2 separate regions of the Homo sapiens genome follow, and region 2 is linked to region 1. Evidence: promoter capture Hi-C in 16 types of primary human blood cells and fetal thymus (Javierre and others, 2016). All regions are on one chromosome and are shown on one strand. Each heading gives the region's core, a stretch centred on a gene start or on the middle of the fragment in contact. The rest is flanking DNA. Distances are from core to core; before and after follow the strand shown.

Evidence for each region. The method cuts DNA at HindIII sites, captures the fragments that hold promoters and counts their contacts. A CHiCAGO score of 5 or more calls a contact.
Region 2: a contact is called between the fragment with the promoter of SEPTIN9 here and the fragment with the promoter of MGAT5B in region 1, in 1 of 17 cell types (naive CD8 T cells). The highest score is 5.7, in naive CD8 T cells.

The regions. Positions count from the first base shown.
Region 1 is chr17:76,864,524-76,870,853 of GRCh38, forward strand. It overlaps MGAT5B (alpha-1,6-mannosylglycoprotein 6-beta-N-acetylglucosaminyltransferase B), which reads left to right and starts at 3,881. Exons shown (of 18, transcript NM_001199172.2): 1 at 3,881-4,574. The coding sequence starts at 4,507. RefSeq lists an enhancer at 3,084-3,378 and a silencer at 3,716-4,025. The HindIII fragment of the contact is 19,574 bases long and covers 1-6,330 here.
Region 2 is chr17:77,278,324-77,285,200 of GRCh38, forward strand. It overlaps SEPTIN9 (septin 9), which reads left to right and starts at 3,176. Exons shown (of 12, transcript NM_001113491.2): 1 at 3,176-3,231. The coding sequence starts at 3,213. It overlaps SEPTIN9-DT (SEPTIN9 divergent transcript), which reads right to left and starts at 3,574. Exons shown (of 3, transcript NR_136503.1): 1 at 3,289-3,574. RefSeq lists an enhancer at 1,258-1,905 and a silencer at 3,507-3,670. The HindIII fragment of the contact is 6,769 bases long and covers 972-6,877 here.

The DNA of each region.
Region 1 (6,330 bases), core at 2,631-5,130:
CGGCCTCCTAAAGTGCTGGGATTATAGGCGTGAGCCACCGCACCTGGCTTTTTTTTTTTTTTTTTTTTTTTTTGAGACGGAGTCTTGCACTGTGGTCCAGGCTAGAGTGCAGTGGTGTGATCTCAGCTCACTGCAGCCTCCATCTCCCAGGTTCAAGCGATTCTCCTGCCTCAGTCTCCTGAGTAGCTGGGATTACAGTCACCCGCCACCAGACCCAACTAATTTTTTGTATTTTTAGTAGAGACGGGGTTTCACTATGTTAGCCAGGCTGGTCTCGAATGCCTGACCTTGTGATCCACTCGCCTTGGCCTCCCAAAGTGGTGAGATTACAGGCATGAGCCACCGCGCCCTGCCAGGAACTGCTATATTTAGGGCACCCGGGTGAATGTGCATCCTGCTCTGCATTTGGCTGGTTGTGGGTCTGTTGATAGCTTCAGGAGAGAAACAGTGAAGAGGGATGGGGTTTGGAAATGGGTACACCTGATGTCAGTCCTTATTTATTTATTATTTTATAAGAGACAGGGCGTCGCACTGTCACACAGGCTGGAGTGCGGTGGTGCGCTCATAGCTTACTGCGGCCTCGATCTCCTGGGCTCAAGTGATCCTCCTGCCTCAGCTTCCTGCGTAGCTGGGACTACAGGTGCATGACACCACACCTGGATAAGTTTTAAAGTTTTTGGTAGAGATGGGGTCTCACTATGTTGCTCAGGCTGGTTGTCTCAAGCTCTTGGCTTAGGCATTCCTTCTGCCTTAGACTCCCAAAGTGCTGGGATTACGGGCGTGAGTCACGGCGCCTGGCCCACCGTCAGTCCTTGGCCGGGCCCTGCAGCAGGTGCCGCCGTTCCTACTCCCCTGTTCTCTGGCTTGCTTCCAGAGACTTTCCTTTCTCCTCAGGAGGCCACAAGTATTTGTCTAGAACAGTGCTTCCCCACCTTGCCTGTGTCGGCATAACCTGTGGCATCAATGCACCAGCGTGCCCAGGCTGCACCTCAGGTACTGGATCAGAATAAGGACAATTTTGCTAAATTCTGCAGGTGATTCTGCTGGAATCTGGGCTGAGAACCACCAGTCGATGAGGCAGGATCTTGGGATCTTGGTGTGGGTCCCCCAGAAACAGATGCTCAGAATAGGATTCTGCAAGTGGTTTATTTGGATGGTGACCCCAGGAACATTGACCGGGGAGTGGAATGAGACAGGAGGGAAGGGAGTGAACACAGGGGCATCACAGGGCTGGCTACACCACGGGTGACTGGAGCTCAAACTTGCTGGGAACCTGGGGAGCCACGGGGTAACACGCCGCGGAGTATCCCCCTTAGGAAGAGGGAGTGGGGGTGTCTATCCACTGCTTGAGGGCTGCTGCCAGGGTGTTGATCCTTTGTCCAGGGTCCTTTCTTCTTGCCCTTTTGTGTTCTAGCATATTCCCACAGCCATTAAAAAAAAGTCCTCAGGCAGAGAGTTGAAGGTGTTCTCAGTCATCTGCCTCTTAGCTTGCAGAGGTGACTGCAGTGGGAACCAGGACTGGGCACAAACAGCATCTGTTCCTGACGGACAGTAACAACCATCAGAACCACCATGCTTGAAAGGCTCAGGAGGTCCTGGCAACGGGCTACTTACCTGCATTAAGCGGCTCAATCCTCAGAACAGCTCTATGAAGCAGGTTATAAGGAGCCCCACTTATAGTTGAGGAAACTGAGGCATGAAGAGGTTATACCCAAGACTGCATGATGTGGGATTCACAGTTTTTCTCCTAATGCCTACAGCACAGTGGAGAGCAAGCAGGACTGTTTACACTGAACTTTACTGCAGACAAGAGGCCAAAAAAAGGGGACAGACTTCAAAAGGGACAGGCAGCTGGACAATCTGGCTTGCAAAATGCCACTGGCTGGCCCAGCATAGTGGCTCATGCCTGTAATACCAGCACTTTGGGAGGCCGAGGCAAGCGGATCACTTGAGGTCAGGAGTTTGAGAGCAGCCTGGCCAACATGGCGAAACCTGTCTCTACTAAAAATACAAAAATTTTGCATTTTTATAGGCATTTATTACAGGTATCGTGGCACGTGCCTGTAATCCCAGCTACTCAAGAGGCTGAGGCAGAAGAATCTCTTGAACCCAAAAGGCGGAGTTTGCAGTGAGCCGAGATTGCGCCACTGTACTCCAGCCTGGGAAACAGAGCGAGACTCCATCTCAAAAAAAAAAAAAAAAAAAAAAAAAAGTCACTGGCTGTCCTCTGCTTGCTTCCCTCCCTGGCCCAAGCCAGCCGTCAAATGGCAGAGAGGCTTTCCCGCTCCAACTTCAAAGTCCAGATCTAAGGGTGTGTGGCCCAGGGGAAGAGGGGAGTACCTTCCCCTACCTTCTAAATTCTGGCTTCTGTGGAGGGTAGGCCACCTCCCCAGATGACCCACACCAGAGGTGGCCATGCCTTCTAGGGAACCCCATCTCCACCACTGAGGAAGAGGCTTCCCCTTTGGCCTAAAATGGCAACCAGATATAAATGCCACCCCCTAAGCCTACTCAATCAGAAGAACCCCCAATCAGAAGAGAGACACCTAATCAGAAGGACCATTTCATTCCTTAGTGTAGATATGGCTTATTGCCAGGATTTGTGGCAGATGTAGGCACCCAGGCATGAGATGTGATTTACAGGCCTGGCAGAGACCTCTGCCCTCCAACATCTCCTTAGCCAGCCTGCCACGATGCCCAAATTTCCGGCCACCATTCATCACTCTTCTGCACAAAGGCACGGTCAGCATGTCCTTGTTCAATGCAAATTTGTTACCTAGCCTGTGTAACACATTATATCTGCTAACACCAATTTATCACCCATTTTCACATTAGCAGAGAGCAAGGCAGTGAGATAATGGAACTCAGCACCGGTAAATTTTGATGAAGAAGGAGCAGCAAAGCAGAGAGCGTGAGTCATGGCCAGTGAGTAATGGCCCAGGAAGGGGGCCGGGAGGTGGGCAGGGCAGGCAGCAAGGGGCCTGGGTATGGGGGATTGGAGGGGACCAGGCCCAGCTGGAGGAAAATAAAGTCTCCTCCTCGCATAAGCCAGGCTGCAGCATCGTGGCCTGAGCTGGGAAGACCCTCAGAGTCATTTGACACATGACTGAGGCTTTGGGCACTTCCCAGGGTGGGGTGGTCAGATATGACCTCGGGAAGTGCTTTTGAAGCCGGAGAGCTTTCTTCAGGCTGGCTCTGCGAGCTCCCAGGAGTCTCTGTCTCTGCAACTGCAAACACATCTCCAGAGCCAGGAAGTACGAGGAGGGGGAGGGGAGGACGCCTAGATGCTAAGAGACGACATGAGATCCTACATGCTTTAGGGTTGCAAGGGACCTTGGTGAGCTTCTGGTCACTATCATTTCATAATGGAGACTCTGAGACGTGCACACTTGATCGCCCACTGGCTAGTGGAGGATCTGGGGCTACAACTCAGTACGCCCCTGCGCCTGGCTCTGTGAGCGGGCCCCAGCACCACAGGCCGAGTTTATACTCAGATCAGTAAGCAAAGAGGAGCCACGGGAGTTTCTGACCAGGGAGGGGCAGAAGATAGGCATGTGTTGCCAAGCGAAATCGTGGGAAGCGGCTGATGAGGAAGCCCACGGAGGCACCTGGCAGAAGAGAAGGGTCTCCGCTGGGTGCGCATCTCTTCTGTGCTCTGCGGGAGCCAAAGCAGCTTTCGGCCCTCGGGGCTGGTGGCGCCCTGGGAAGCTGCTTGGCTCAGGGGAAGGAGCAGGGACCCCCGCCCGCCCGTCCTCGAAGCTGGTCCTCGGCGTCCCAGCCCCGCACGGCCCCGGGCAGGGCGCACAGCGGGGCTGCGGCCACGAGGTGGCGCCGGCGCGCCTTGGAAGCGCAGCTGCAGCTCCCGGGCCGCCCCAGCGCCGCTCGGCCGCCTCCTCCGAGGAACAATGCGGCGCCTCCGGGCGTAGCGTCGCGCGGGGCCGGACGCCGGACACCAGAGCGCGGGCGGCGGAGCCAGCGGGCGAGAGAGCGCGCGGCGGGCGCGGGTTGCCCTCGTCGAGAGCCATGGGCGCGGCGCGGCGCGGGGCTGAGGATCGGCGCGGCCCGGAGGCGCTGGGGACCGGGGCGCGGGCCCGGGGCCGCCTTTAGCCGGCACCGAGGGCGCGGGGCCGGGGATGAGGGCGCCCGCCGCGGGGAGCCCGTCTGCGCGCCGCGGCACCTTCCCGCCCAGCGAGCGAGCCCGAGCAGGCAGACGCGCGGCCGGCGGTCTGGGGGCGCGCCGCCTCCCGGTCCCCAAAATGTGAAGCGGGGAGGGCGGAGACGCAGAGACGGCCCGGCCGGGCGCCCTCGCCGCCCTCCGGCAGCCGCGCCGCTCCCTCCGCTGCACGCCCAGGCCTGAGCAGCGAGGCCACCGGGCCGCGCGCTCCCAGCTTCGCTCGGACGCGGCTTCGGCCCGCAGAGGGTTCGTGGCCCGGACGCGGCGAGAGCTGGGCCCAGGACGGTGCGTCCGGCCTCGCCCGCGGCTGCTCGCACCAACAAGTTTGAACAATGATCACCGTCAACCCCGATGGGAAGATAATGGTCAGAAGATGCCTGGTCACCCTGAGACCCTTTCGGTAAAGTTCCCTCCTGGTTGGTTTTTTCCCCAGGGGGGCGCCGGGTGGAGGTGGGCGAGGTCGGTTCCTGCGAACGTTCAAGTCCTGGTGGCAGAGGGGGCGGTTCACACTTCAACCCCTGGTGATGACCAGTGGGGCTGGGCTGGGGGAACGGATGGCGTTGGGGTTCGGGGTGCGGATGGGGAGGGTTGTGTTATTCGGGGACCTGTCCCGAGTTGGGCAGGGTTGGAGAGGACTCGGGGTGCAGAGGTAAGAATGGGGGCAGAAAACCCCCAGGTCGTGGTCCTGGGCCCAGAAAGTTGCCCCAGCCTGCGCGCCCCTTCCCAGCCCCTCAGGGTCCTTCCTCACCCCGCGGACGGTCCCATCCGGGTGGCAAAGTTAGTGTGCGGCGCCTTGGAGCTCCCCCTCCGGTCCCTCCCGTCCCGCCCGTCTGCCCCTAGGTCGGCTACCCCCCAACCCCTCCGCCTGTGCCACCCTCTCCCCAGCCTTTGGTGGCACTGCTCTCCTCCCCGCGGGGCTCGGGCCTGGCTCCGACGAGAGGGTCCCGAGATTAGAGCGAGGACTCGCTCATCCCAGGATTCGCCCCCGATCGCAGGCGTCGGAGAGGCGGGGGCAGGGGCGGCGCTGCAGGGCTACGGGGCGGCTGGAGCCGAGGCTGCGGCGGAGCGTGGTGGGCGGGCGGTGGCGAAGGCGACACGCTTCGGGCGGCCAACACCTGGGGGCCCAGGCCAGGCAGGGCTGGGGCCGCGCGGGACTCACTGGACCCAGCCAGGGGCCCCCAGGGCCCAGCGGTGCCGGGGCAGCCCCCTCTCCTCCCAGGCATCCGCGGAACCGGCCCGCAGCGGGGTGGGGAGGGGGCGCTGCCCAGTGGACGCCCGGCGGGGCCCGAGTGTCACCCCGTGGGTAGCTGGGCAGCGAGGAAGCTGGGGGAGTGACCGCCCCGGCGCGGGGGCCGGACTCGGGACGTGGCCACAGGTGGGCTCCGGGCGCGGGAAGGAGCCCGAGAAGGCGGAGCTTGCAGGGGCCCTGAACTCTTGCCCTCCAGGTCTCGGCCCAGCCCCACTGTGGTCCCCCTGCCGGCTCCAGACGGGGATGGGGGCGGGGAGACGGTGGCTCACCTGGAGCCCGCCTCCCAGCACACCGGGCCTGTCTGCTGGGCCGAGGAGGCAACCCCAGGGGACGGCAGGGGTCAGGCTGGACCTCTGCGGTCCGGGGGTCCGGGAGGCCCGGAGAGCTGGTGCAGGCCGTGGGTGGTGATGGGGGCGTCGGGAGCCCATGGGAAGCAGGGCGGGAAGCAGGCGTCTCTGGAAAGGGCCTTGCTCCTCCAGGGAAGGCCTTGAATCCCTGGCCTGACTGGGAACGCTGGAGGGTCCTCGCCCCTTCCGACCCCATCCCTGTCCCGCCCTCCGGGCCGCTGGGTGTTTCCTGGCGCGATTGGAAGCAGCCGCGAGACCCCAGCACCACGGACAGTGCTCGCGACCCAGGGCTGCTTCCCTGTCTGGTCCTGCCCTGGTTTTCTTTCAGGCCCTTATCTGAAGGCAGGATTGGGGGTGGAGGTGCATGGGTCCCCAAAGTTGTGTAACTTCACCCCAGGGTCTCCCTGGGCTGCCCGGAGACCCGCAGCCATCAGTGAGTCCCTTCAGTTGAGGTGGGGGGCAGGCTGCAATCATAGCACCCCAGCTTATTCATCCTCAAAGGCAGGCTGGGGTCCTGTTCCCTGTGGTTTTCCCAGGGCTGCTGGCAGGGTCTTTATTCC
Region 2 (6,877 bases), core at 1,926-4,425, 410 kb after region 1:
GGTCAGGAGTTGGAGACCAGCCTGGCTAACGTGGTGAAACCCCATCTCTACTAAAAATACAAAAATTAATCGGGCCTGGTGGCAGCAGGCACCTGTAATCCCAGCTACTTGGGAGGCTGAGGCAGGAGAATCGCTTGAATGTGGGAGGCAGAGGTTGCAGTGAGCCAAGATCATGCCATTAAACTCCAACCTGGGTGACAAGAGCAAAACTCCATCTCAAAAAATAAAAATTAAATTAAAAAAATAAAAAAAAAATAGGCCAGGCGCAGTGGCTCACACCTGTAATCCCAGCACTTTGGGAGGCCTAGGCAGGTGGATCACCTTGAGGTCAGGAGTTGGAGACCAGGCTGGCCAACATGGCAAAACCCCGTCTCTACTAAAAATACAAAAATTAGCCGGTTGTGGTGGCGTGTGCCTGTAATCCCAGCTACTTGGGAGGCTGAGGCAAGAGAATTGCTTGAATCCGGGAGGTGGACGTTGTAGTGAGCTGAGATCATGCCACTGCACTCTAGCCTGGGTGACAGAGGGAGACTCTGTCTCATAAATAAATAAATAAACCAGGTGCGGTGGCTCACACCTGTAATCCCAGCACTTTGGGAGGCTGAGGCGGGGGGATCACCTCAGGTTAGGAGTTTGAGACCAGCCTGGCCAACATGGTGAAACCCTGTCTCTACTAAAAAAGAAAAAAATTACAAAAAAAAAAAAATTAGCCAGGTGTGGCGGGCACCTGTAATCTCAGCTACTCAAGAGGCTGAGGCTGGAGAATCACTTGAACCTGGGAGGCAGAGGTTGCAGTGAGCTGAGATCGCACCATTGCACTCCAGCCTCGGCGACGAGGGCAAAACTCCCTCTCAAAAAATAAAAAATAAAAATAAATAAATAAAAACAAAATTTGAGGCTTAAACAATTAAGCTTCGTGCATCTCTTTAATTTTTCTTTTTTTTTTTTAACTCTAATTTCATGACAGATTAAGCTTCATGCATCTCAAAAATGTGTAGAACCCTCATTCCCAGCCTTCCCTCCCTCTCTCTTGTCCTTCTTTCTGATTTCTTGGAATCGGAAGGAAAATTCGGATATCCAGGAACCATCACACAGGAGGCACCCATGTGATGTGTCCAACATCACTCCACGCAGGTGTCCTTGGGTCCTGGGTGCCCAGGTTCCTGTGAATTGTGACCCCAGGCAGAAGCGTGAGCATCCGCAGAGGAACCCACCTACCCAAAGCCAGGGAACAGCCAGGGCTGGCATCCTCAGGGTGACTGTGCTCCAGGGCACCTCTGACTTGTGCTGAGTAAAATGGACAAAGCCAGCAATGCACCCATAACCCAGATTCTTGAGACACCGCTGGACTTTGGGAATCCCAGGCATTAGGCTCGTGGCAGTGTCATCATGGCTAGGCTGGGGGCAGTGTCATCATGGTGCTTGCTGGCCAAGTCAGGACACGGCCTAAGCCGGAATCTGCTGGTGCTGGTACAAGCGGTGAGTGGGCGTGTGGGTGGGGGTTGCGGTTAGGGTGTGGACATCCCAGAATCCAGGACGCTGTTCACAATTCGTCCATACTCCCTGCTCCCCTCCCTTACAGCACTTCCCTCCCGAGGCCTCCTGAGCCTCTAACCCCCAGATAAGGAAAGGGGTGGACTCAGTTGAAGTCCAGTGTCCACTCCGGTCCAATCAGCTCTACCTGGGGTGAGGGGAAACTCCTCTGGCTGGGCTGCTCCCTCTGCAGGGCTGTGGCTGGACAGATTACTCAAGAAAGGAAGCAGGTGGGCCGGAACGAACCCACGGTGCCACATAGGCCTCCGTTCTCATGCATATAAGTTTCCCACACTCAGGCAGGAAATGAAAATGCTTCTTGGACCCCCAAGGAGAGTAAAGGAGAGGGGAAGAGGAGGAGGATTTTTCGGGGCTGTTAGTGACACTTTCAGCCTCCTGTGCATTTTTGGGAGGGCTGCAGGAGAAGGCAATGCTGCGCCCCTACCCAGAACTAGCGAGCGCTTCCCAACTGGCCTCCCGCCTTCCTCTCGTCCTCTACGGCCTCCATTGGCAGCTGTGCAAGGGCCCGGCCCTGCCTCTGTCTCTCCACACTCGCTGTGATACCTCAGGCCTCCCAGGCTCCGCCACGCCCTTCCCTCTTTCGGGAACAGCTGCCTTCCATCACCTTGGCTGCCTGGCTAATTCCTGCTCATTCCTTAAAACCCTGTTTTGATTTCGCCTCAATAAAACTCTGACACCACCCTCCAGTCATAATTAGTCACTTCTTCCTCTGTACGTTGGAAACACCGCTTTATCGTGGAGACTTTAAGGATATCCAAGTAGAGAGAATTCTTCCGTGCAAGTTTTGCATCCTCTCACCACTGCCTGCGTTACCCGAGTTGTAAAGGGCGGCTCCCTGTGTCTGCCCCGCTGCACCGATACACCGAGCTGCGCACGGTGCCCAGCGCAGGGAGAACAAATGATCATCTGTCCAACGCGCCCATTTACAGGTGAGGAAACTAAGGCTCCAACTCAATCGACGCACTCTGCCCTTTTGATTACCAGAAAAGTAGCAGGACAGGTGTCCTGTCCCGCCCTACCCCGGCCCACTAAGCCGGCACCCCGGCTCCGACCCCCGGCTGTGCCCGGCGCCGCCGCGGTGCCCGGCGCCGCCGCCTCGCCCGGCGGGGCCGCCCGGAGCGCCCGCACCTCCGCCCGCTTCCACCTGGCCGGGCCCGCCCCGCCCGGACTCGGGACTGGGAAGTGCGGCGACTCCCGGAACCAGCCATTGGCGCCAGCGCGGGGAGCTGGGGGTGCAGAGCTGCGGGCGCGGCGGGCCACGCAGGCGGCCCCCACCCCCGGCCTGGCCTGGTCTGGTCTGGTCTGCGCTGCCGCGCGGGGGCGCCCCCTCCCAGGCCCGGCGCCCGCCAGCCCCGCTCCGCCAGGTGCAGCGCAGCGCAGGGGTGGGCGGGGGTGGGGCTCGGCGCGCACGTTCACGGGGCGGGGAGGGGGCGGGTCAGGGGCGGGACCACAGCCGGCTGGGCCGGGGTTCTATGCGCATCTCCGGGGAGGGGCGGGGCGGGGGCGGGGCCGGGGCGGGGCCCGGTCGGTGCACTCCAGACGGCGGGCCGCCCCCTCTTCCCGCCTTCCTACTACCGGCCCAGGATTAGCGCCCTGGGAGCGCGCGCCCCGCTGCCTCGCCGCCACACTTTCCTGGGAGCGGCGGCCACGGAGGCACCATGAAGAAGTCTTACTCAGGTGGGCTTCGCGCCCGGGGTGGGGAGGGGTCGGTGTCCCGGGACCAGCGCTGCTCACCTGAGTGCCTGCGGCCGGGAGTGGCGAGGCGCCCCCGGAGCTGAGCGAGTCCCCGCGGCGGGCACACTGCAGGTCGAGTTCCTCCCAGGACAGGGCCGCTGTCGGGCCGCTTTCGACCTGAGCCGACCGTCCCCTGCGCTGTCTCCAGCCCTTGCTCGAGTGTCGGAGGGGCTGCCCTGGGGGACGCTCCCTCTTCCTCGCCCCTTGCACCCTCGCAGGAATCGCTGACTTTCCAGGTCGGCCGGGTGCTTTGGGTCCCTGTGCGTCTGTGTGGGTGAATGGGGTCGGGGCTAGGTGGAGGGGTGTCCTTGGGTTCAGCCTCTAGGGCTGGTGGTCCAGGCCGCAGCATCCTTTCTTCGGATTCTCTTCGGTTTCTCCTCTACTTAGTGGGGCACGGGACGGCCTCCAGATGGGACCGTCCAGCAGCGCCCAAACTTGGCGACTCGGGTTCACGTTTTGCGCTCAGGACGCCGCCCGCGGCTGACATCCTCACTCCACCCTAGCAGGGCCCGCCTTAAGTAGGCGAAGGGGGCCTGACTTGGGCCTCACCATGAGCCGGTTCAGGAGCTTTCATTTCATAAGAGGCTCCCGCTCTGGCACTCTGAAGTTCCATTTCACAGATGGGCACACCGAGGCCACAAGGGCAGGTTAAGAGAAATCCAGATCTTCATTATTTGTCTTTTCCTTCCTTTTTTTTTTCCTTTGTGGTTTTCTCCAAAGGATCCAGGCAGGCAGGATCCTTTGTCCTCCTCAGTCCTCAAATTATAAATAGCGTCTCCTCTTCTAAATCTAGAAACCGTTTGTTTAATGTCCCTCCTTTAATTCATTCAGATAGAAAGGTACCTGCCAAGGATCCATGAATTAATTTTTATTGATAGGAGAACAGAATCATGGGCCTTAGTTGGAGGTGAAGGAGTCATCGGGGCCATCCCCCTGCCTTTGGGCCATTGTCGGTTTCCTCTGGCTTTCCATATTTAGGAACCAAAATGAGTGATAAAGTACCTTGTCTCAAAGAGGATTACTCAGAACTTCCCCGAAAATACCCTTCTGGGTCAGTAGCTTAGAATTTCAACTTTCACCCGGTTGTTGCGAACAAGATGGCCCTCTACGCACCCGGAGCACAGCTCTGTCAGGAGCGTGGGTGGGTTGGTGTGCTGGTGGGCGGGAGCGGGCTTCCAGGTGGCACATGCTTGGTTTTGGCACCGGGGCTTCCTCCCCAACATGCTCCAAATACTTGAGATTGTTGTGGGGATCGCGCGGTGCATGGCCCTTTCCAGGGGATCTCTAGCCCGCCCAGGGAGGGCCCTTTGCCCTTGGTTTCTTACACTTTACCTCCCACTGGTGGGTCCAGACAGTGGGGGTGACCGGGGTCCTCCCAGGTCGTGGGTCCTGGGTTTTTTCTGCGGAGACCCTCCTGCACAGATGCCGGAAGGGCCCTGAGGCAGGCTTGGAGTCTCTGCACCTGCGGCTTACTGGGAGGTGGGGAGACCATCACTTGTCCTTTTCTCCTCTCCTCCACACACACCTACCCCACCCCTCACTGGGTTTCTTTTTTTTTTTTTTTTTTAAAAAAAAGGACAGAACCTTTTGCAGTAGGTGGAAGTAGAGTTTGTGGAGTGAGCAGGAACCAACTCTTGTACAGCAGCCTCGGTGCCTCCTTGTGTTTACCTAAAGGGGCAGGCCCCTCTGAGGATGGGGGAAGGGAGGGCTCAGACCATTTCTGGTTTGCTCCCTGCTTGGCAGTGGCCCAAGGTGTGCTGGGTCACTGTGTTGCAGTTGTATGGAGTGGGACTGGAGGGGGCTGATGGTGGGGGTGGCCTCTTGCCCTCATTCTGAGTGTCCTGGAGCTGTCTTGGCACCAGCCCTTTTCCGGGTACGGGCACTCGCAGGAGTCAGGCTGACCCCCCAACAAGCCATCGACACCATGAAATTAAGGAAAGCAGCAAAAGATGTTAAAAATCCCCCAAGGCTCTGACAATCCAAGGACAACAGGAAGGTCTTTATTTTTTCATCTAGACTGTGCGGGATTATTGCTTCCAGACCTGTATGTGGGCTTCAGAATAAACGGAATGACCATAATGTTGTTCCCGGTAGACCTGGTTTGAACATTCGTGAGCCTCTGAAAAGGAGAAAGATTTTAGAAGGATGTGTTGGGGCAATCTCAAGTACCGTGGGTCTATAGACAGTCATCGAAGACACTTTATGTGCTGGGCACACATGGCCAAGTCTGAGTGGGTACAGAAATGGTAATGAGATATAGTCCTTGCCTGCAGAGAACTTACATTCTCACCGGGAGTCAGGATGAGGGCGAGACACCAGCTCATTAACACCCTTCCCTCCTGAGCAGTTCAGCCTCCAAATACTACAGGAATGCCCCGGAGGTTTTAGGTGGAGGTGAGATTGAGCTGGGCCTTGAGGAAGGAGAAGTCTTGAGTAGTGGAGAATAAAAAGGGACTTGGCCAGGTGCGCTTGAAGTCCCAGCTACTCAGGAGGCTGAGACACGAGGATCGCTTGAGCCCAGGAGGCTACTCAGGAGGCTGAGACACGAGGATCGCTTGAGCCCAGGAGGCTACTCAGGAGGCTGAGACAGGAGGATCGCTTGAAGCCAGGAGTTCAAGGCTGCAGCCCTGTGACAGCGCCTGGAAATAGACACGGCACTCCAGCCTGGGTGGCGTCATGAGACCCCATCTGTAAGAAGGTCTTTTCCAATGCGGAAGGCAGCAAGGGCCCACACAGGGCAGCTGCAGGATCCAGGGGGACACTGGGGACAGGTTCTCTCTGGCAGCTCCACTGCTGCTCCAGGCTTTCCCGATTGCCTCACCCGGCCTTCCAATGGGGTGGAGGTAGTGGTAGTCTACAGGCAGTGTGGTCCAGTGGTTACACTTGGGGGCTCAGAGCCGCCAGCCCCTTGGGATTAAATCTCACCAGGCTGCGCCTCTCCCTGTGGCACAAGGTTCTCACCTCATGCATCTCATTTGCCTCATTTGTTTTTTTGTGTGTGTGGTGTTTTTTAATTTTATTTATTTATTTATTTTTGAGACGGAGTCTCACTCTGTCTCCCAGGCTGGAGTGCAATGGCATGATCTCAGCTTACTGCAACCTCCGCCTCCCAGGTTCAAGTGATTCTCCTGCCTCAGCCTCCTGAGTGGCTGGGATTGTAGGAACGTGCCACTGCGCCCAGCTAATTTTTATATTTTTACTAGAGATGGGGTTTCACCATGTTGGTCAGGCTGATCTCGAACTCCTGACCTCGTGATCTGCCTGCCTTGGCCTCCCAAAGTGCTGTGATTACAGGCATGAGCCACCACGCCCAGCCTGCCTCATTTGTTAAATGGGACAGTGCTATGTTGTTGTAAAGGTTAAACGAGTTCATATTTGAAAAAGCTGAGAAATGCCTGCTCTGTAACCTGTTAGCTGCTGTCATGATCATGATTGTCATTGACAGGAGGATGGAGAAGGCTGGGGTTACGCCATTGCTAGGACGTTCCAGAAGCCTCCATGATCTTCCCTTACTGTGGTCAGAGCATGGTGCAGGGTCTCTCCCCCAGCCCCTCAGCACTGGAGCCAGCTGCACTGTACCCGCCCTGGC